7 separate regions of the Homo sapiens genome follow, and all the other regions are linked to region 5. Evidence: promoter capture Hi-C in 16 types of primary human blood cells and fetal thymus (Javierre and others, 2016). All regions are on one chromosome and are shown on one strand. Each heading gives the region's core, a stretch centred on a gene start or on the middle of the fragment in contact. The rest is flanking DNA. Distances are from core to core; before and after follow the strand shown. Region 1 overlaps TMPO (thymopoietin). Region 2 has its middle 5.0 kb from the start of TRW-CCA4-1. Region 3 overlaps WASHC3 (WASH complex subunit 3). Region 4 overlaps IKBIP (IKBKB interacting protein). Region 5 holds the start of DEPDC4 (DEP domain containing 4). Region 6 overlaps PARPBP (PARP1 binding protein). Region 7 overlaps LINC02453 (long intergenic non-protein coding RNA 2453).

Region 1 (2,736 bases), core at 33-2,532, 1.7 Mb after region 5:
GTAACTGCCATAACATTAATAAGTACAATATAAAAGCTTTTTTGATGTAGTTATAAAAAACCTAGGTACAACTCAGGTAAAGAAGGAATCTTGTTCACAGAAAAATACGACCAATCACAGGTCACTTCTCGTCCCAGTCCTTATAATAAAAATAACATTTCTTTGAAAAGAAGCCAATACTTATACACTTGTCACCATGATAGTTATTAACCTAACAACGCAAGGATATGTATTTTTTAATAGGCTTCAATATTCCAGTCTCCTAGTCTTAAATTCATCATCATTTGAAGATCTAGGTTTTGAAAAGACTGATTTTAGTTAACATCCCTGGCAGGGCATGGTGGCTCACGCTTGTAATCCCAGCACTTTGGAAGGCCGAGGTGGGCGGATCACCTGAGGTCAGCTTAAGACCATCCTGGCCAACATGGTGAAACCCCGTCTCTACTAAAAATACAAACATTAGCCAGGGTTGGTGGCAGACACCTGTAATCCCAGCTACTCAGGAGGCTAAGGCAGGAGAATTGCTTGAACCTGGGAGGCGGAGGTTGCAGCGAGCTGAGATCACACCATTGCACTCCAGCTTTGGGGACAAGAGCGAAACTTCATTTCAAAAAAAAAAAAATCCCTTTTTGTAGACATTTATCATGGTATAGCAAAATTAGTCAGTTGTTATTTCTAAAACTTCTACTACCAAAAATTTAAGTTAGATTACTTTCTTACTGAAGAGACAGAAAGGAAGTCAATTCTAAAGTTTTACATGAACTCTGAACTTGTGTGAAAAAGTGGTCAAGACATCTATATGTGTCTTGCTAACTTTCCAGTGTTAATACTAGTTAGTACAGAATCTATTTAATACTTGCAGGTTCCCAAAAACGAACAGTGATTTTTATCAAGTTAGTTTAAACAGTTCAGTCTTTATTTAGGACTAAGATTTCAAGTCCATCTCCCAACACTTCTATCAATGGATCTGTCAATGTATCTATGTTTGGTACAACCCCCAGCAATATAAAATCTATTTTATGCTTTGTTAACTCAGAATCTAAGAACTAGAAAGCACAAAGTAAAAAAAACCATTAGTAGTGGAATAGAAATCGGTTAAACGAATAAGGTATCTGGTTACAGATTAATTCCTCTTATAAATTTAGATTCCAACAGTCAATAAAAACATGGTCCTCAAACAGAAGAAAAACCATACCATAATCAGAATATTTTCAATTATACCACTGAAATGTCAAAGTGAGTTTCAATGATGAAATGGAAAAGGGGTGTTCATATACAAATATTTAACTTGTTGCAACTCCAAGAATAAAGCACACAGAACAACATGTTTCTGGAGACCACACAACACTGTTCAAATTTAACAACTTTATTGAATTTGCAGAAGCATTCTACAGTAATACATTTTTAAAAATCACATAGCACTCAGTAGGTACATGTATACATGTACATTTCAGAAGACAACAAATAAAATTACTCTCAGAAAGCTGCAAAGATGGACACATATAATCTAAGAATGTGGTAATGGCCAGAGGGAGTACCCAAGAGACCATATTTTATTATGCTTAAGGCTACTACTTTCCACAATACCTCTGCAGTTAAGACTCTTAACTTACAATCACAGAAATGAAAACATGATAATACACTGCTTTATACAGACATACAGATACTGGGATATAGTATAATTTCTTATGGCTTAAAAAAATTTAATTTGCTTTTAGAGTCTATATTGCTAAACTTAACTTTCCACAAAATACAATATATCATGAAAGCAAAGTATTATTTTTTAAAAGGCCCCATTATCTGACAAAATAGATGGTGAACATGCACTATCCCAGGATATCTATTATTATCCAAAGAAGTGTTTCTCAAAGTGTGGTCCATGGTACTGGTCCATGAATTGGTTGCTACCAGTCAATGAAGAGATAAATTACTTGCATCAGAGTGTAAATCAATACATTGCTTTAGCTATTAATAAAATTTTGCTAAAAAATCAAATCCTGTCATTGACCTAAAAAGTATCTCTAGATTTAAATTCTTGTGCATGCTTATCTTGCCTGTGGATAAGTAACAGTTTGTAGACTGGTGCTTTGAGTTGCATTGATCTAGACTACTATGATTGATGTTGCAGACATGAATAAATAACAAAGAAAAGTAAGAAAATATGAGCAAAAATATGGACAAGTTATGGAACGTGAAAAGATACTGAGATAAAAGTATCAAAAAGAACAACATCACTGTTCTGAATGTGTAACAAATGTTTAATTCTGTCCTAGGTATAAAGGAGGATGCATATTATTCTATTGAACAGTAAATACTCCTTATATCCTAATTAGAATTTTCTTAGTTTTGGAGAATTGTAAAAACATAAGTAAAGCAGGAAACAGAAAACAACTTAGAGACTAATATGTGATCTAGAAAGCGTTAAATTGTTTGTACCAGGCTTCCTATCTACGCAAATCTTTAGAAAAGACAAGTAGTTCTACACAGGCAATTACTTTTATACTGTAATTTGATGGGTAGAAGCTTAACATTTTGTAATTAGCCCTATCTGGAAACTAAAACAACCTTAACAGAAAAGAAAATGTTGGCATAAAGTACCTGAAAGATAAGATAGATGTCTTTTTGTCCTTAATTTTACTAGTGTTTATTTCCACGCTTTTTAATTACTTTGCATACTTCTCCTCCAAATAATGTTCCACCTTTAAAGGGAGTGGAAGCCAGCTTATTCTTAGAAGC
Region 2 (3,183 bases), core at 167-2,666, 1.8 Mb after region 5:
GCGGGCAGATCACATCAGGAGTTCGAGACCAGCCTGACCAACATGGTGGAAGCCCCTCTCTACTGAAAATACAAAAGTTAGCCGTGCCTGGTGGCATGCGCCTGTAATCCCAGCTACTTGGGAGGCTGAGGTGGGAGAATCCCTTGAACCCGGGAGGCGGAGGTTGCAGTGAGCTGAGATGGCACCATTGCACTCCAGCCTGGGCAACAGAACGAGACTCGGTCTCTCAAAAAAAAAAAAAGTTTAGCTCCCTTAAGCCATTTCTGATAATTTATTCTAAAGATAAAATCAAATGTGGAATTCATTTATAAAGGTATTTATTGCTTCATTTATAATGGTGAAAAAAATAAAAAATCTCTATCTCCAATAGTAAGGAATTGGTTGTTTATGATATATCCATATGACAAAATAATGCACAGTAGTAAAAAATCATGTTTTGACATTTAAGAATATGAGGCTGGCTTGGTGGCTGTCACCTATAATCCCAGTACTTTGGAAGGCTGAGGTGGGAGGATCCCTTGAGCTCAGGAGTTTGAGACCAGCCTGGGCAACATAGGGAGACCCCAGTCTCTACTAAAAATAACCAAAAATTAGGTGGGGCCGGGCACGGTGGCTCACGTCTGTAATCCCAGCACTTTGGGAGGCCGAGGCGGGCGGATCACCCAAGGTCAGGGGTTCAAGACCAGCCTGGCCAACGTGGCGAAACCCTGTCTCTACTAAAAATACAGTAATTATCCAGGTGTGGTGGTGGGCACCTGTAATCCCCAGCTACTTGGGAGGCTGAGGCAGAAGAATCACCTGAACCTGGGAGGCGGAGGTTGCAGTGAGCCAAGATCTCGCCATTGCACTCCAGCCTGGGCAAGAGCGGAACTCAGTCTCAAAAAAAAAGAAAAAAAAAAAATTAGCTGGCATGCTGGTGTGCTCCTGTACTCCCAGCTATTGGGGAGGCAAAAAAAAAAAAAAAAAAAAGAAAAGAAAAGAAAAAAAATAATATACATCAAAGTGGAGTACTTTCTCTTGGATAGTGAGGCACAGGTGATTCTTATTTTCTTTTTATTTATATGTCTGTATTTCCCTAGATTTCCACAATGAACACATATGATTTTAAAACCATATTTTTCTTTTTAAGTGAGAGTGCTAAGTTGGAGAACCATTTGGCTTATCAGAATTCAGGTCTGCATTTCAATTCTGCGTGTCCAAAAGCTCAATTTTATTAGTTCGTCCAGAATACATCGCTCTGTAAACCAAGAGAATCGGAGACAGGTCTCAATCAATTTAGAAAGTTTATTTTGCCAAGGTTAAGGACACACCCATGACACAGCCTCAGGAGGTCCTGACGACATGTGCCCAAGGTTGTGTGGCACAGCTTGGTTTTATACATTTTAGGGAGACATGAGACATCAATCAATATGTTTAAGATGTACAATGGTCCCATCCAGAAAGGCGGGACAGCTATTAATACAAGTGGGGGTTGGGGGGCTCCGGGGTGTTCCAGGTCATAGGTAGATAAAAGACCAATGGTTGCATTCTTTTGAGTTGCTGATTAGCCTTTCACTGAATACACTATTTACAGGAATAGTCACTTATGTTAGTCTGGCTTAGGGAAACAAAAGGGCAATCAGATATGCATTTATCTCATATGAGCAGAGGGATGACTTTTTAAATCTCTATCTGTCCTTTGTCCACAAGGAATTTCTTTGTGGTCAAATTGTGAGGGAGGTATATATAGCTTTTTTATCTTAGTAGCTATCTTTTTTTTTAGGAGTAGAATGGGAGGCAGGTTTGCCCTAAGCAGTTCCCAGCTTGACTTTCCCTTTGGCTTAGTCATTTTTGGGGTCCTGATGTTAGAGGGGTTTGAATCACAGCACCTCCATGTTGAAAAAAGGGTGGGTAAGGCCGTGCACGGTGGCCCATGCCTGTAATCCCAGCACTTTGGGAGGCCAAGGTGGGTGGATCACCTGAGGTCGGGAGTTTGAGACCAGCCTGATCAACATGGAGAAACCCTGTCTCTACTAAAAATACAAAATTAGCTGGGCGTGGTGGCACATGCCTGTAATCCCAGCTACTCAGGAGGCTGAGGCAGAAGAATCGCTTGAACCCGGGAGGCGGAGGTTGTAGTGAGCCAAGATCGCGCCATTGCAGTCCAGCCTGGACAACGAGCAAAACTCCGTCTCAAAAAAAAAAAAAAAAAAAAAAGAAAAGACCTACTGGGCTGCATTCCCAGACAGTTAAGGCATTTTAAGTCACAAGACGAGATAGGAGGTCGGCAGAAGATACAGGTCATAGGCCGGGCACGGTGGCTCACGCCTGTAATCCCAGCACTTTGGGAGGCCAAGGCAGGTGGATCACGAGGTCAGGAGTTCGAGACCAGCCTGACCAACATGGTGAAACCCTGTCTCTACTAAAAATACAAAAATTAGCTGGGCGTGGTGGCGCGTGCCTGTAGTCCCAGCTACTCAGGAGGCTGAGGCAGAAGAATTGCTTGAACCTGGGAGGTGGAGGTTGCAGTGAGCTGAGATTGCACCACTGCACTCCAGCCTGGGCGAGAGTGAGACTCTGTCTCAAAAAAAAAAAAAAAAAAAAAAAAAAAGACACAGGTCATAAAGACCTTGCTGGTGAAACAGGTTGCAGTAGCCTGCCAAAACCCACCAAAACCAAGATGGCGATGAGAGTGACCTCTGGTTGTCCTCACTGCTACACTCCCACCAGCACCATGACAGTTTACAAATGCCATGGCAATGTCAGGAGGTTACCCTATATGGTCTAAAAAGGGGAGGCATGAATAATCCACCCCTTGTTTAGCATATAATGAAGAAATAACCACAAAAATGGGCAATCAGCAGCCCTCTGGGCTGCTCTGCCTATGGAGTAGCCATTCTTTATTCCTTTACCTAATAAACTTGCTTTCATTTTATGGACTCGCCTTGAATTCTTTCTTGTGTGAGGTTCAAGAACCCTCTCTTGTGGTCTGGATTGGGACCCCAGTAACACCGAGATTTTTCTTTCACAGGACTTAAGTAACTAAAATACTCTCAGAAAAGAAAGCAAGGCTATTAAACAGGTGAAATAAATGCTCAGAGCATTCTATAGTAGTGGATAAGTCCTCTTGCAAGAATACATGAATAGACATTTCTTAGTGAAATAGAACAAATCCACAGAGCTGTCTTTTCTAGACAGGTCCAT
Region 3 (3,161 bases), core at 89-2,588, 1.8 Mb before region 5:
CCTAATAGGCCTCTAGTCCTTATTTATTTAAAGCCTCAAACAAGAACCAACTGACTGTTTCTCTCAACAAAAGAGGAACCTCAACTGTTAGTTTTTGAACTGAGAGTGAACTGGGAGGAAAAAGAAAACTTTTCCCACCCCCCGACAGGATCTGGTTTGAACCAAACCCAACCTTAAACAACTTCAGTCACAGATAAACCCTCAAGCCAGAATTAAGTTTGAAACAAATTGCTAGGGTTCTTTCTTCATCAGTGGCACTGTTTCTAGAGTTCTTCATTAAAGAGAAGAGTATAAAACTGCATTCTGTGAAGAACTCAACTTTGCAAAAACTTTCTGCATATTAGGCTACTTTTGTAACTCTTCCAGTGATTGGCACCAGAGTAGAAGAGAGATTAGATGACAGAGAAAGTAGTAGAATCAGACCCACATTACAGAGGTACTTAGGGTCATCTCCTCTTCCATCACAAATCCCCAGTGAGCATTTTTATTCTTGCTTTAGTCAGCAAAATCTTATGGTCATCCATTGGGACTGCAAATTTTGAGGGGTTGGCAGGAAGCAACATAAGCTCTATGCATATTGCAGGTGAAACCTGAGCATTTAACCTTATAGTGAATTTTAAAGTCAAAGGTACTTTATAAACAGGAGTGCCAAATGTGTTACTTTGGTTTTTTGTTTGTTTGTTTAATAATTTTTTTTTCTTTTCTTTTCCCCCCGAGACGGGGTCTTGCTGTATCACCGAGGCTGGAGTGCAGTGGCGTGATCACAGCTCAGGGCAACCTCAACTTCCTGGGCTCAAGTGATCCTCCCACCTCAGCCTCCCTAGAAGCTTGGACTATAGGCATGTGTCACCACACCCGGCTAATTGTGTGTGTGTGTGTGTGTGTGTGTGTGTGTGTGTGTGTTAGAGATGGCATCTTACTACATTATCTAGGCTGGTCTCCAACTCTTGGGCTTAAGTGATCCCTCGGCCTCGGCCTCCCAAGTGCTGGAATTATAGGCGTGAGCCACTGTACCTGGCCAGAATGTTATTTTAATTCAAACTTTTTTTGTTGTTTTTTTGTCAGACAGGGTCTCACTTTGTCACCCATGCTGGAGTGTAGTGGAGTGAACTTAGCTCACTGCAGCCTAGACCTCCTGCCTCAGCGCCCCAAGTAGCTGGAACTACAGGTGCGTGCCACCACACCTGGCTAATTTTTTGTATTTTTTGTAGAGACAGGGTTTCCCTATGTTGCCCAAGCTGGTCTTGAACTCCTGAGCTCATCTGCCTGCTTCGGCCTCCCAAAGTACTAGGATTACAAGCACCCTCAGCCAAACTCAGACTTATTACATGCCTAAGATACTGGATTTTTAAATAATTTTTTTAAATTCTGAAATTTTTCTTTTTTCTAAAATCTTTAGGTACAAGCAAAAGTGCTGAGAATTGTCACATAACCTGAAAGTTTCTTTAGTGCTTATCTTCTACATTCATTTTTTTAGCCTGCCATTGGACTTAACCTTTAATCAGATAATATTTTGCTTAAATCCTTATTTGCTCTTATATCTTTAACCACTGCTGGGCTTAAGTATCAGACACAACCTAATAAAACCATTCATTGCTTCCTTTTCTGGCTTCTGGGGCACACGCAACACAGTGGGGTATACCAAGAGATCCATTATCTTAAAATACTGTTTCTCTTTTAGAGAAATGGATATATAAACAAGATATTTTACAACCATGAAAAACCAGCATTTTATTTTGTTTCCATATTCAACTAGTAACTCCATATTTCCTTCTTTCTTTTGTCCTTTTTTTTTTAACTTTATAAAATGTACTGCCTTGGAAATACATGGGTAGTAAATCAAGCTTTCAGCTTATCTGACAAATATCAGGGACTTTGTAAATTCCCCTGTTATCCCAAACCATAGCATTTCAAGTTTGTTTTCAGTCTTCATGAAGACGATGGTTAAATGGATGGGAAAGACTGTTACCTTTCCATTTCCTCTTGCTAAAACTTTCAGAGGTGAGAACAGCTACTGTCACCGATTATGTTACTTATGTTATATCCACAGTCATCCATAATTTAGAGCAGTGGCTCTCAACCAGGGGACATATGGCTATGTCTAGAGGTGTCTTTGATTGTAATAACTGGGGAGTGCTACTAGCATTTAGTGGATAGAGACCAGAGATTCTGCTACCCATCTTGTAGTGCTCAGGACAGTCCCCTGCAGCAAAGAATATTTCACCCACAAATGTCAATATAGCTAGCATTGAAAAACTTGTTTTATAGTGGTCTGGGGATTGTATAAGGAAAATGCCACAAGCATACACATCTTAGAAATGAACTTCAGCAGCCCATAAATGAACCCAGGTATACCTTTTCACCTGACAATGGCTCTTTAAAAAGTATACATTCAGGTATGTTATACCAATAATTACACTGGAACATACAAAACCATTTATTATACTGAATTATCTTTGAAAAGTAGTTCTTTCTTAATCATGCCATGGACCCTTTGACAGTCTAGTGAAACCAAATTAATGTTTTCAGGTGGATAGAATAAAATGCATAGGATTACAAAAGAAACCAGTTATATACTTAAAAAAATTTAAAACTATGACATACTAGTAGGTTCTTTATTAAAGCATTAAATTATATAATCCTTTCATATGTCTAATAACCTTAATTTTGAAGTATAAGGAAATCTGCAGCAATTGTGATGTGATTTAAAAAAAAAACTATGATTTCTATTGGTGACAGTCTTAGATCCTAAAACCACTGTGATTTTTTTTCTTTTTCTTTTTTTTTTCTTTTGAGACGGAGTCTCACTCGTCGCCCAAGCTGGAATGCAGTGGCGTGATCTCAGCTCACTGCAACGTCCGCTTTCCAGGTTCAAGCGATTCTCCTGCCTCAGCCTCCTGAGTAGCTGGGACTGCAGACGCACACCACCACACTTGGCTAATTTTTTTTGTATTTTTAGTAGAGTTGGGGTTTCACCATGTTGACCATCCTGACCTCAGATGATACACCTGCCTCGGCCTCCCAAAGTGCTGGGATTACAGGCATGAGCCATTGTGCCCAGCCTATGGTGATTTTTTTTTTAACTATGTTTTTAAACAATGCTGAATTTAAGCTAGAAGTAGATAAAAATAAAGGTAGAATTTTTTCTCTCATCCTAGTTC
Region 4 (2,902 bases), core at 233-2,732, 1.6 Mb after region 5:
ATCCCCATAAGACATTTGTAAACATTTTCCAGATAAAAAGCAAGTATTTGGCATCTTAAAATACTTAAAAGCTCACTAGAATTTTGACAAAGCCATTGAGATCTTTACCACTAAAACACGTAATTCAGCATCTAAAAGTCGGTCTATCAAATCTTTATTAAATGCTTTCCGTACTGACACGGCCCTGGTGGTTAAAATACAAGTGCATATGTGTGCCTGTCTGTGTACTCTTAAATACTGCTTACTCTCACTCTTCATCTGATTAAGTTGGAGGGAAAAAATCTGAACCCTTCCACTGCCCAAGAAGGATTTCAAGGAATCACACTATATCATTGTCTTCAGACCATTTCCTATGTGGAAAGAAAAGAGAAATAATACATAAGAAACTTAAAAGTGTGTTGCTTTAATATCTTCTCTCTGCTAAATAAAGGCCTGATAGGCCAGGTGTGGTGGCTCCCACCTGTAATCCCAGCACTTTGGGAGGCCGAGTTGGGCGGATCTTGAGCTCAGGAGTTCAAGACCAGCCTGGGCAACATGGTAAAACCCTGTCTCTACAAAAAATACAAAAAATTAGCCAGGCATGGTGGCGCATGCCTGTAGTCCCAGCTACTTGGGGGGTTGAGGTTGGAGGATTGCTTGAGCCCCGGAATTTGAGGTTTCAGTGAGCTTTGATTGCACCACAGCACTCAGCCTGGGTGACAAAGTGAGACCCTGCAAAAAAAAAAAGGCCTGATATATCCTATGTCATCTTGACAATAAACACTGGAGATAAGTTGCCCAAACCCATATGGCTTGAGTGTCAGTTTGCATAGCTCTTTTCTAAACTCTTATAGAAATTTTTCAGGTAAGAATTGAGGTGATTCTACTTTCAGAAAGTTAAAAAGTTGTTAAATTACTAAACAAGACACAAAACCTGTCACTCATGCTTATTTAATTACATAGAAATTTAATCAGCTGGAATTTCCATTGTGAAAATTTTGTTTCTTATGGAAACTTCAATAGATTTTTTAATTGCTTTTTTGTTTTGTTTTGTTTTGTTTTGTTTTGTTTTGTTTTGAGAGATGGAGTTTTGCTCTTGTTGCCCAGGCTGGAGTGCAGTGGCGCAATCTCAGCTCACCGCAACCTCCACCTCCACCTCCCAGGTTCAAGCAATTCTCCTGCCTCAGCCTCCCGAGTAGCTGGGATTACAGGTGTGCGCCACCACGCCCAGCTAATTTTGTATTTTTAGTAGAGACAGGGTTTCTCCATTGGTCAAGCTGGTGTCAAACTCCCAACCTCAGGTGATCTGTCCACCTCAGCCTCCCAAAGTGCTAGGATTACAGGCGTGAGCCACCGTGCCTGGCCTAAATTGCCTTTATAAAAGTTTTTTATAGTATCTGTTATAATTATGTACAAAAAGTCAAAAGCTCTTTAAGCAAGTTGTATAACTCTGGTTTTTGTTTTAATTATCCAATATAATTTTCTCTATAAATCATACTGTAAAACCTTGGCTAACTCCATTTCCAGCTTTTTTCTTTGTGTTAGTAGAGTTTTATCTAAAAGACAAGGGTATAATTTAAATGTCCTGCTTCTTAAAAATGGAATATGGTCAAGGTTTTCTTGAAAACTAGGTATTGTGCTAAAACTGAGGCTATAGATGGTATGAAACATAGGGCTAAATGGGTACTGACCCTAATAGTGGCCCTGGAACTTCTTTCCTTGCAGAAGGTCCGTAACAGCTTCCTTTGGTTATTTGCCTCTTTTTCATTATTAAGCTGAAATAGAGCCAGAGGAAATCCTGAATTTGTAAGTCCTCAGTCAGCTGTCTGCCACCATTTAACGTTCCTAAAGGAGCTATTCAGAGGCAACACACACCATTAATTACCACCATGCACTGTAGGAAAATGTAAACCATTCATTATCACAGGACCCTAGATAGATCTGTATGAGGTCTCTATAGACTGCAATGGCTCATGAAGGAGTCAGGAAGATTCTTTTTGTAAGGCCTACGCTAAAAGTAGCCTGGGTCCCTTTCTCCTGTATCTCACTCTTCCACAAGGCCATATGATATGATAGTGAGAAGAGGCCCAAAAACGAGAGTTATTTTTATTTAGTGATTTATAAGTGGTCTAATCCATCTATTCCATCCTTCATTTGCCATAAACACAACCCAGTTTATACTTAGTGTTCAAAGGGGGACAGGCCTGGGGCTTCTATCAAGTGCAAGTGGTCGGGAACCCTGCTTCCCTTATGCAATCATAGGCATGTAGGAAGGATGGAAGAGTAGCTGCACAAAGTAGTCCAAAAGAAAGATAGCTGGTCTTGTTGATGGGCACCTGTAATCCCAGCTAGCTGGGAGGCTGAGGCAGAAGAATCACTTGAACCCAGGAGGCGGAAGTTGCAGTGAGCCGAGATCACACCACTGCACTTCAGCCTGGACAACAGAGTGAGACTCCATCTCCAAAAAGAGAAAAAAAAGGGGCCACAGTACTTAAAGGAAATAGCTGATGTGCTATGGCTCTATTGTTCCAGGAGCTTTTATAAATAGCAATAACTAATGTCTACAATAACTCGGCCAGGCATGGTGGCTCACACTTATAATCCCAGCATTTTAGGAGGCCAAGGCGAGAGGATCGCTTGAGCCCAGGGAGTTTGACCTGCAGTGAACTATGATTGTGTCACTGTAGACCTCTTCCTCTTCAGCTGCCTCAAAAAACGAACAAACAAACAAAATAGCCAGATCTCCTCTCTACAGAATTTTTTTTTTTAATTAGCCAGTGGTGGTAATGTACCTGTGGTCCTAGCTACTTGAGAGGCTGAGGTGGGAGAATCACTTGAGCCCAGGAGTTCAAGGCTGCAGTAAGCTATGATCAGGCTACTGTACTCCAGCCTGGGTAACAGAATGAGACCTTGTCGAAAAACA
Region 5 (2,933 bases), core at 1-2,500:
ACAGTGGCAGGCTGATTTGGAGCATTTTTGCTAAACTATTTATTTTTCAGAACGGAGATAGGCTACTTAGAAAACTCACTCATAGTATCCAATGTTTTTAGAAAGTGTCATCACAAATAATTCCTGAGTTTGACGTACTAAAAAATAGTTGACACCTTCCAATGAAGTCACTACAGGCATAGCGCTTTTAAGCAGCTTGTCTGGAGCCTCCTCGAGTGCCTTAGAGGGTGGATTTGATAATATGGCCTCCTTAATTACGGATCACAGGTATGTGCTCAAAGTCCAATAAGTTTTTGCAAGCTTTATCGGTCTAAACCCTCCTCCATCCGTATTCTCCCGTTTAGAAAAACAAGACTGCAGGAGTAACCGTGGGGTTTTTTCTCTTAACAAAACCCCTGCCCCACCCACCTCACACACAATAACCTTCCATTCCAGAACTAAAGCTACTGTCAGAGAAGGACGGCGGGCGGCAGGGCCCTGGCTGGTGACCCAGGCTACCGGATTCCGGACCTCAGAACTGAGGTGAACTCTCTCACCCGGTCCTAGAGTAGTGTCCAATGTCCCCGAAAGGTACTACGTTCTCCACCACCGAAACCCGAGCTCTCGAGCCGGCATGGGGGGCTCTCCCTCCGGCAGCTGACTTCGATCCCGGGTCTCCCGTCGCCTCAAGGCCTCTTTCGAGGACTCGGCCCTCTCGGATCCGCTCCCCGGAGCTCGCTGCTCGTCCAGCCCCGCTTTGCGCGGGCGCCGACCGCCGATCGCCCGGCCGGCCGCCGGCAGGCCCGTCACCAGGCAACACCCACCAGCCTGAGCGGCCCTGGGAGGCCTAACCCGGGCGCGAGTCCTCCATTCCCTCCTCGCCGGCTCCGGGAGCCCAGGCGAGAGAGCCGCCGGTGAGGGAGGTCGGTCGGTGCCGGCGGCCGGTCACTTACCTCTTCCTTCTTCCAGGAGGGGCGGTGCTGGGGCTCTTTCCCCCCGCCCCCCTAATAAACGCCTCCTGGCTGTTCCTGCTCTGCCTTCGTGCCTGGCCACTGACTCTGGCTTTACTCCATATCCTCCGCCGCCCCCGCGGCCGCAAACGTCGGAGCTAGAAGGAAAGGGGTGGGGAGGGGAGGGACCGGGGACGAAGAGTAAGGGAGGGGGAAAAAGACTAAAAGACCTGCCGGCCGGGGGCATGACGTCACTTCCTGCCGGTTCGGAAGAGGCGGAGCCAGTACTTCTCTCCGCCCCGGGTGTCAGGTGGGGCGGGGCTATGGTGCCAGGGGAGGAGCCAGCGCGCGAGCTTATGGCGGTTCTTTTGACTCCGAGGTTCCGTAGACTTGTCAGTCAGAACGAGCTTCCGGGCCCAGGGCTGAACGGGCCAAGTTCCAGGAACCGTAGAGATGGCTTCTGCCGGAAAAGGAGGACAGGTAGCCCTGTATATCCTAGCCAAATGTGCAGTGAAGGTGGAGGGGGCAGCTGAAGGGAGCAGGCGGCTGGGACTCTGCTCCTCATTGGTCCAGGGCCCCGCCCATTTCCTAGCCCCGCCCCCTTCCTGCCCTACCAGGCACTGGACTGGGGGACCCAGGACTGAGGCTTTTTAGGGGTTACTGTGGTGAAGTGCCCTTGGAGCGTGCAGGAAAGCGTTTTTTCTCAAACTTTAATATACATACGAATCCCTAGGATCTTGTGAAAGTGCAAATTCTGATTGAGGAGTAGGGTCTGATAATCTGCGTTTCTAATACATGTCCAGATGGCACCAATGCTGCTGGTCCCTAGGCTACACTTACAGCAACAAGGGGTTAATGTACTAGAGGGCAAATTCCTTGAGCTAGAGGAGTTATTTCTTTAATCTAGCCTACTTGTTTAATGAAGGTTAGAGAGGTAGACTGTCTATGGAAAACAGGCTGTACCGCTGTATTTTCCACCTACCCCGTCGAGTACCCTCCTGCCCACCTCCGCCCATCACTTTCTGGCCTCCCCTCCTCAGTCTCCGCTCTGCCCACAATGTCTGGGGATAAGATTTCTTGAGTGATTAGACGGGTAACTTCTGTTACAGAAGGAATTTGAGGGTGGTGGATTTTTATTTCTGTCATTTTATCGTAAACATATGTATAGTTGGGCATACTTTTGCGGTTATGCATAGTTGGAGAAGAGAGCTTAAGTTCTTGGATTCTACCCACTTCCCCCTGCAAATCTAGAAAAAACATTCTAGAAGTTCTAAGTTATTCCCTTATCATTCTTTAATTTTTTTAATTAATTTTAATTAAATTTAATTTTAATTAAAATTTTACTGGGGTACGGAAGAATGAAGAATGACTGCGAACTATAGGTTTCTTTGTGGAATGATGCAATGGTCTGAAATTAGATAATAGTGATGGCTGCACAACTTTGTGAATGTACTAGAAACACTGAATTGTACACTTTAAAAGGGTACATCCTCTTTCATCAGCCACCATTACAATCCTTCTTCCCCAAGGTTACTCGTTTGAAGTTTATTCTTCCAGATCTTTCTATTTATTTACATACATTTTTACATAGGTTGGGAATTCATTTTTACCTAAGTAGGATAATAATATACAAGTTGTTCTGCTCAGCTCATTTTTAAAAAATTTTTGTTTTGGGTTTTTCTTTTTCCCTACTTAATGAGATCCTTGCACACTATAAACATAGCTCTACTTCATTCTTTCTAATGGCTGGCTACTATTCTATAGTAAGGGTATACCATAATTTATTTAACTGTTTTTTTCAGGTAATAGACTGTTTTTTTTCCCTTGCCCAGGCTGGAGTGCAATGGCGTGATCTCGGCTCACCGCAACCTCCACCTCCTGGTTCTAGCAATTCTCCTGCCTCAGCTTCCCAAGTAGCTGGGATTACAGGCGTGCGACACCATGCCCAGCTAAATTTTTTTGTGTTGTATTTTTGGTAGAGATGGGGTTTCACTATGTTGGCCA
Region 6 (3,158 bases), core at 217-2,716, 1.9 Mb before region 5:
AACATGCATTGTTTAAAATATGCAAAACTGCCAACTATTCACAGGTAGAAAACACTATCCCTGTTTTAAGATTTTATACTTTTTAATTTTTAAGTGTTAAAATATTCTTCCTTTTTCAAAATGATGATCATAGTATATAGTAACTATTTTTTCTCAATGGCCTTATTTGCAAAAATGAGAAATGGTTAAAATCTGTCAGTGTCTAATAATTTTTTAGAAATTTTACTGTCTATGGAATCTAAAAATCTGGAAACTACTGACATATAAAATTAAAATAACTCATCAGAATGTCATTTCAATATCTAGCCCAACAGACCCATTGAAGCTAATTCTACCCTTCAAAAATCCTCTTCTCTAGTCAAGCCAGTATCTTTGCCAAGTTCATACCATGACTTTGATTCCCCTGAACCCTTCTTCTGAACTGACTTTCCTCATCATACCTCCTCTACAGCCTTCTCTTCCTTTATCTAAAATCTATCTAATATCACAAAGCCTTTCCTTACCACTCTATCCTACATTCATCCTTCTCTCATCTGAACACCTCTAACCCTTAATCTACGGCTTAAATCCAAACGCTAGTTTGGCTCAAGCTACCTAAGTAAGAATCACTTTGTGGAAATTTTTTAAAGGCAGTTTCCAGTATCCCGGTGCAGATTGGAAGAATTTCCAGGATTGGGGTACAAGAGCCAGTAGTTTTTAAAAGTTTAGGGAATGAAAAAAGTCTTATTAAATAAAAATAATTTGACCACAATAATAATAGTTACATGTTTATCCTAAATCTTCCTATTAAACATCAAATATGCATGTCCCGTGTATAACCATACATAAGAGCTTAATTTTGAAATAATTCATTTCAAATTCTATCATAACATTCTGACACAGATACACAGAGGCATTTGTGAAAATGGTGTATTATCACAGAAGGGCACATAATGTAAAGAAATTAATATTCTTAAGCTTAAGTTTATTCAAATGGGCAGCAATGAAATTTTGCTTTAAAAAAACAAGTTAACCCAAATATAGTTTACCAACCTGTTTGTTGTTCTCCGCCATAGAAAGCTGCAATGCCAAGAGCATGGAGTCTGCACCACATAGAGTAGTTCTCTCAGAGTTACAAAGAGCACGCCAATTTTTTCGAAACTCTTTAATCATATCCGAGACAGACTTCTGATTAAACACAGCCATTATCTTAAAGTAGGACAGAATACAAAGTTAAAGTATCTTATGTTAACCTGAAATTAACATTTAACATGTATAGGCAAGCACAGATAGAGAAAAACATATAGTGAATGAGAGGTCATTTCATATTTACCAAGATTGCTTTTAATTAAATTTAGGAAAACAAAATAATACAATTTCTGCGCAATCATATTTCCCTCCCCTTTGGTTTCTTAAGCCAAACCTTCTGAAAGAACAAAATGTAGCCTTCAATTCTGAAAATTCACACAAAAACAGACATGCAAATTTACTGCAAACTTATAATTACAAATATACCTAATTAAAGCTGTATTTAAATATATATATTTGTTTTGAGATAGGTAATAAGTCTGATAAATTGGGAAAAAAAAAAAAAAACCTAAAAAGCCAATTTCCTCCCATCCTACGTTGTCCCAAAAGAGGTGGCCTATTTTTCTACCCTTTTGAATCTGGACCAGGCTTGTGACTTGATTTAACCAATAGAATGTGGCAAGAATGACGCTGTGGGAGTTCTGAGCTTAGGCCTTAAGTGGTGTGTGCAGAAGTACTAATACAATAGGCCTGAATGCTCTCCTTTGAAGCTGGAGTCCAGTTTGGGAGCTTAGATTTCAGGAGTGTTTCCAGTAAGAGTGGTTCACTGTGCTAAACTGTTCATACAAACAATATAGTTTATGCTAAACACTTGCGAGTCTGGAATTTTGGTACATGTCAGACAGTGGATGCCTTTGCATTTAGCCCCCAATAAAAACCCTGGGCATTAAGTCTCTAATAAGCTTCCCTGGTAGACATTTCACATGTGTTGTCACCACCTATTACAACAGGAGGAATTGTGTCCTGTATGACCACTAGAGTATCACCAAGCAGTGTCCCACCCAAACTGCTGATCCACAGAATCAGAAGGAAATGGTTATTTTAAAACCTTAACTTTTGAAATGGTTTGTTACACCGTACTACATAACCAATAAAATAACTAATATTTAGGAGCTAACTTGGTGGAGATACTTTTCAAAAGCTTAATATTGATTACCTCACTCGACTGTCATAAGTGTCCAATAAGACAGGTCTGTTATTATCCTTATTTTACCTAATAACCTCCACGTCACTCAGCTTGTAAGTGGACAAACAGCATAAACTTAATATGTCTAACTCTATAAGCTGTGTTCTTAAAGCATCATGTTAAGTAACTTCTCCTGATGCACACAAAAGCCTTTCAAAATAATTTGAGGTAGTGCCAATGTTTCATATACCCAAGACTATATAAGGCATCCAATTCCTTTCTCTGAGTTTACAGACATGCCTGCTAAAAGTTTTTTTCCTACTTTAAGTACTCAAGTCTCAACATACTCACATGCCCATCATCTTATTTTGGGTATTTTCCTGTACTTATTCCATTTCCTGACTCCTTCTGCTATCCTTTTCTTCTATTTTTATGTGGCATAAACAGAATCCTAGATGTTTACTTTGGTTTGTATAATCAAGAGCAAAGATACATGCCACTTGCAATATAATTAAATTATAGACACAATCTATGATGCAACTTAAAGATACAGGTAGAAGATTAGAGATTAATTATTTACATAAATGCAAATCCTAGTAAATAGCTAAGAATTGTATTTCTCTTCAAAAAATCACCCTCATCTCTTGAAAGAAAAAAGAAAGTGAAGAACTGTCAGCTTCAGTGACATGGTCACTTTGCCTGAAATACATTTTTAGGAGTAAATTACTTACTGGTATTATTTAAAGGTAGTATTATGAGATTTGATTGCTATGAATGAAGACTCACTTGGGAATTAGGCCATTCTGAAATGTGGCTCCACCACTTACTGGCTGCGAGATCTTGGCCAAGTTACATCACCTTTCCCTGCCTCAGCTTCCTCATAATGAAAATGAAAACCCTATCCCATAGGGTTTTATGACAAGTCAACGACATAAACACAAGTAAAGCTTTTAGAACAGTGCCT
Region 7 (2,791 bases), core at 51-2,550, 1.8 Mb after region 5:
ACATCACCTTTATCTGTTGCTGTAAATTAAGGAATCTGTGGGCTTAGTGATTAGGTGTCCCTCAGAGGTTTTCAGGGCCTCAGATCTTGCCATCACTTTCCTTAGAGTTATCTGTTCCTGGGCTGGCCTAAGCTTCCTGTCCTTTAAGGAACCTGCCTGCCAACATTGGCCCCAACCCAACAGGAGATCAGTGACCTCCGTTTTCCTGACTTTTTTCCTGCCCTACTGACCACCTGCTGACCTATCCCGGTTAATAGCTTTACTGATCTGTCTAGCTTTGAGGCAAACACTAGCCCCAGTGTGAGGAACAAAGGGTCCTGGTGACCCACACCCCCTGGCCCTTTGGCATTCAGTCCTCAGGCTACCCAGAAGGACAAATTATTCAGCCTGTTTGGGGTGGGATGGAACAGTTTCTACTTCTTTTCTTTGGATTTTTTTTTTTTTTTTGAGACCCGTCTCACTCTGTCACCCAGGCTGGAGTGCAGTGGTGTGACCTTGGCTCACTGCAACCTGCGCCTCCCAAGTTCAAGCAATTTTCATGCCTCAGCTGCCCGATTAGCTGGGACTACAGGTGCGGGCCACCATGCCTGGCTAATTTTTGTATTTTTAATAGGGATAGGGTTTCACCATGTTGACCAGGCTGGTCTCAAATTCCTGACCTTGTGATCCGCCTTGGACTTCCAAAGTGCTGGGATTACAGGTGTGAGCCACTGCGACAGGCCTTTTCTTTAGTCTTTCCGTGTTTTCTAAACACAAAGCAACAGAAAAACTTCTGCTTCAAATGCATGACTCAGGTCTGGCATTCAAGTTGCTGCTATTTTGGGAAAAAAGCTGCCTGTAGCTTTTGAAATTTCTTATTCTCCTACCTGTGATTAACTCATATGATTAGCAAAGTTTTATTATCAGAATTTATCAATAAAATGAAGTTAGTGATCTAGAAAATAAGAAGAGAACCAGCACAAAATAGCACGCAGAATCCCATTTTTTTTCTATGCATTTGTAAGTACTGGAAACGTCTGGTGGCTGGGTGCGGTGGCTCATGCCTGTAATCCCAGCACTTTGGGAGGCTGAGGCGGGAGGACCACTTGAGGTCAGGAGTTCGAGACCAGGCTGGCCAACAGAGTGAAACCCCGTCTCTACTAAAAATACAAAAATTAGCTGGGCGTGGTGGTGGGTGCCTATAATCCTAGCTACTCGGGAGGCTGAGGCAGGAGAATCACTTGAATCTGGGAGGCGGAGGTTGCAGTGAGCCTAGATCGCGCCATTATACTCCAGCATGGGGACAGAGTGAGACTCCGTCTCAAAAAAAAAAAAAAAAAAAAGGAAGAAAGAAAGAAGAAAACATCTGGAAAGAAGTAGCTGAAGATATTAAAAGTAGTTATATCTGGGTTAAGAGTGTGTTGATGATCGCTGTTCTTTTTGCTATTCCACCTTTTCTAAATTTTCTACTATGTGCATATATTGAACTCAGAAAAGCAAACAATAAAATTTTCTTTAAAGTTATTAATATTAGGCAAAGCAAATAGCTCAAATGTACATTTGTGATAGTCCTCTTAGCCTATGACATGTTGAGTAATGTATTCTAGTTTGGTTTTCCTTGTTAGCCAGATTTCATTATTTTGCAGCTTAAGTTGTTTATTTCTAGTTCCTTAAGGTGGGGAGGAGGTGAGGAGGTGAGGAGGGTGAAGAAGCAAATTCCACTTCAGTAAAACAGGGCGTGCAGCCTTTTCCCCTGAGTCCCTTTGTCTCAAGGCCCCTGTGTTCCGGGTCTTTTGTTGTTCTCTGCATGGACTTTGATTCGAGATTTAAAGAAAAACAAGTGCTGGCCCTCCTTGCGCCCTCTGGTGTCCCAGTGAGGTATAACCGGACAAACCGCACAAAGATCACAGCCATTTTCACACAGCGCTCCCCCGACACAGTGATGCCTGGAGACGGGAATGTCTGGAATCTTAGAGGAAGGAATCACACACCGACAAGCATGGCAGGCTTAGTCTTTGAAACTTAATCAGAGCCTGTAAGTATGGATACTGTTTTTTAAAAAATTAAAAGCAGTATCTGGACTGCAAGTATTTAAAAAACCTAATAGGAAATAAGTCAACTCTCAAAGCATTTGGCACAGCTTTCTGGGTTCTAAAACTAAGAAAATCTTACTACATATGTTGTTTTATAAATACAGCATAAACCAGTACTTTGTTATTTGTTTTAAAAATTTCTTTTAGAGACAGGGTCTTGCTCTGTCACCCAGGCGGGAGAGCAGTGGTGCAATCTTAGCTCACTGCAGCCTTGAATTCCTGGCCTCGGGTGATCCTCCATGCTTCCGCCTCCCAAAGGACTGGGTTTACAGGTGTGAGTCACTGTGCCTGGCCTAGAACTTTGGATTAATTGCAAATAAATTAGGTGAAAGAGAGGTCTGGATACCTAGGCTTTAGCTTGACTGAGGATAATGATTTCCGCAACTTTAAGCTTTACCATGTAGACCAAAAATAAAATTCTAAGCTCCCCAATCAGTTGAATGGATGCCTCCTTGTCCAGGGGCATTCCAAAGTTACCTGAAACGCTAGTTCATGTCATGATGGGAACAGGTGGTCAGACAAGCCTCATTATACTCTCCTCCCTTTGGGACAGAGTCCCTTTGGGATTCAGGCACATCTGACCAGCATTAACATAAGTCTGACAAAGAAGGCTTTTTGTAGCAGTAAGATACCAACATGACAGACAGCAGGCCCTGAAGTAAATTGAAGTAGTTTACCCCAAAAAATATATATATATTTTTGACACATTTTGAAATGGC

Evidence for each region. Contacts are between HindIII fragments. The CHiCAGO score rates a contact against its expected background, and 5 or more counts as called.
Region 1: a contact is called between a fragment that was not itself captured here and the fragment with the promoter of DEPDC4 in region 5, in 1 of 17 cell types (activated CD4 T cells). The highest score is 7.1, in activated CD4 T cells.
Region 2: a contact is called between a fragment that was not itself captured here and the fragment with the promoter of DEPDC4 in region 5, in 3 of 17 cell types (naive CD8 T cells, activated CD4 T cells and fetal thymus). The highest score is 8.0, in naive CD8 T cells.
Region 3: a contact is called between a fragment that was not itself captured here and the fragment with the promoter of DEPDC4 in region 5, in 2 of 17 cell types (non-activated CD4 T cells and total CD4 T cells). The highest score is 5.8, in non-activated CD4 T cells.
Region 4: a fragment that was not itself captured here is called in contact with the fragment with the promoter of DEPDC4 in region 5 in 3 of 17 cell types (fetal thymus, total CD4 T cells and activated CD4 T cells); the score reaches 5.4 in fetal thymus.
Region 6: a contact is called between a fragment that was not itself captured here and the fragment with the promoter of DEPDC4 in region 5, in 6 of 17 cell types (naive CD4 T cells, fetal thymus, total CD4 T cells and 3 more). The highest score is 8.9, in naive CD4 T cells.
Region 7: a fragment that was not itself captured here is called in contact with the fragment with the promoter of DEPDC4 in region 5 in 1 of 17 cell types (fetal thymus); the score reaches 5.7 in fetal thymus.

What each region holds. Positions count from the first base shown.
Region 1 is chr12:98,534,244-98,536,979 of GRCh38, reverse strand. All of the region lies in intron 3 of TMPO (thymopoietin), which reads right to left. Among named protein-coding and RNA genes, the nearest start is that of TMPO-AS1, 19 kb to the right of the region's middle. The HindIII fragment of the contact is 2,487 bases long and covers 39-2,525 here.
Region 2 is chr12:98,507,652-98,510,834 of GRCh38, reverse strand. No RefSeq gene overlaps it. Among named protein-coding and RNA genes, the nearest start is that of TRW-CCA4-1, 5.0 kb to the right of the region's middle. RefSeq lists an enhancer at 1,923-2,466. The HindIII fragment of the contact is 8,186 bases long and covers 1-3,183 here.
Region 3 is chr12:102,048,196-102,051,356 of GRCh38, reverse strand. All of the region lies in intron 2 of WASHC3 (WASH complex subunit 3), which reads left to right. Among named protein-coding and RNA genes, the nearest start is that of WASHC3, 12 kb to the left of the region's middle. The HindIII fragment of the contact is 1,017 bases long and covers 830-1,846 here.
Region 4 is chr12:98,638,597-98,641,498 of GRCh38, reverse strand. All of the region lies in intron 1 of IKBIP (IKBKB interacting protein), which reads left to right. Among named protein-coding and RNA genes, the nearest start is that of IKBIP, 4.7 kb to the left of the region's middle. The HindIII fragment of the contact is 4,214 bases long and covers 1-2,902 here.
Region 5 is chr12:100,265,396-100,268,328 of GRCh38, reverse strand. DEPDC4 (DEP domain containing 4) reads left to right here and starts at 1,250. Exons shown (of 10, transcript NM_001364818.2): 1 at 1,250-1,409. The coding sequence starts at 1,253. SCYL2 (SCY1 like pseudokinase 2) reads right to left here and starts at 1,152. Exons shown (of 18, transcript NM_017988.6): 1 at 537-1,152. RefSeq lists enhancers at 518-577, 588-657, 1,328-1,407 and silencers at 728-807, 908-957. The HindIII fragment of the contact is 4,398 bases long and covers 303-2,933 here.
Region 6 is chr12:102,121,916-102,125,073 of GRCh38, reverse strand. PARPBP (PARP1 binding protein) reads right to left here. Exons shown (of 11, transcript NM_017915.5): 2 at 1,033-1,188. The coding sequence starts at 1,185. Among named protein-coding and RNA genes, the nearest start is that of PARPBP, 3.3 kb to the right of the region's middle. The HindIII fragment of the contact is 1,013 bases long and covers 960-1,972 here.
Region 7 is chr12:98,490,217-98,493,007 of GRCh38, reverse strand. The region is part of intron 3 of LINC02453 (long intergenic non-protein coding RNA 2453); the gene reads left to right. Among named protein-coding and RNA genes, the nearest start is that of TRD-GTC1-1, 12 kb to the left of the region's middle. RefSeq lists a silencer at 2,183-2,477. The HindIII fragment of the contact is 2,331 bases long and covers 135-2,465 here.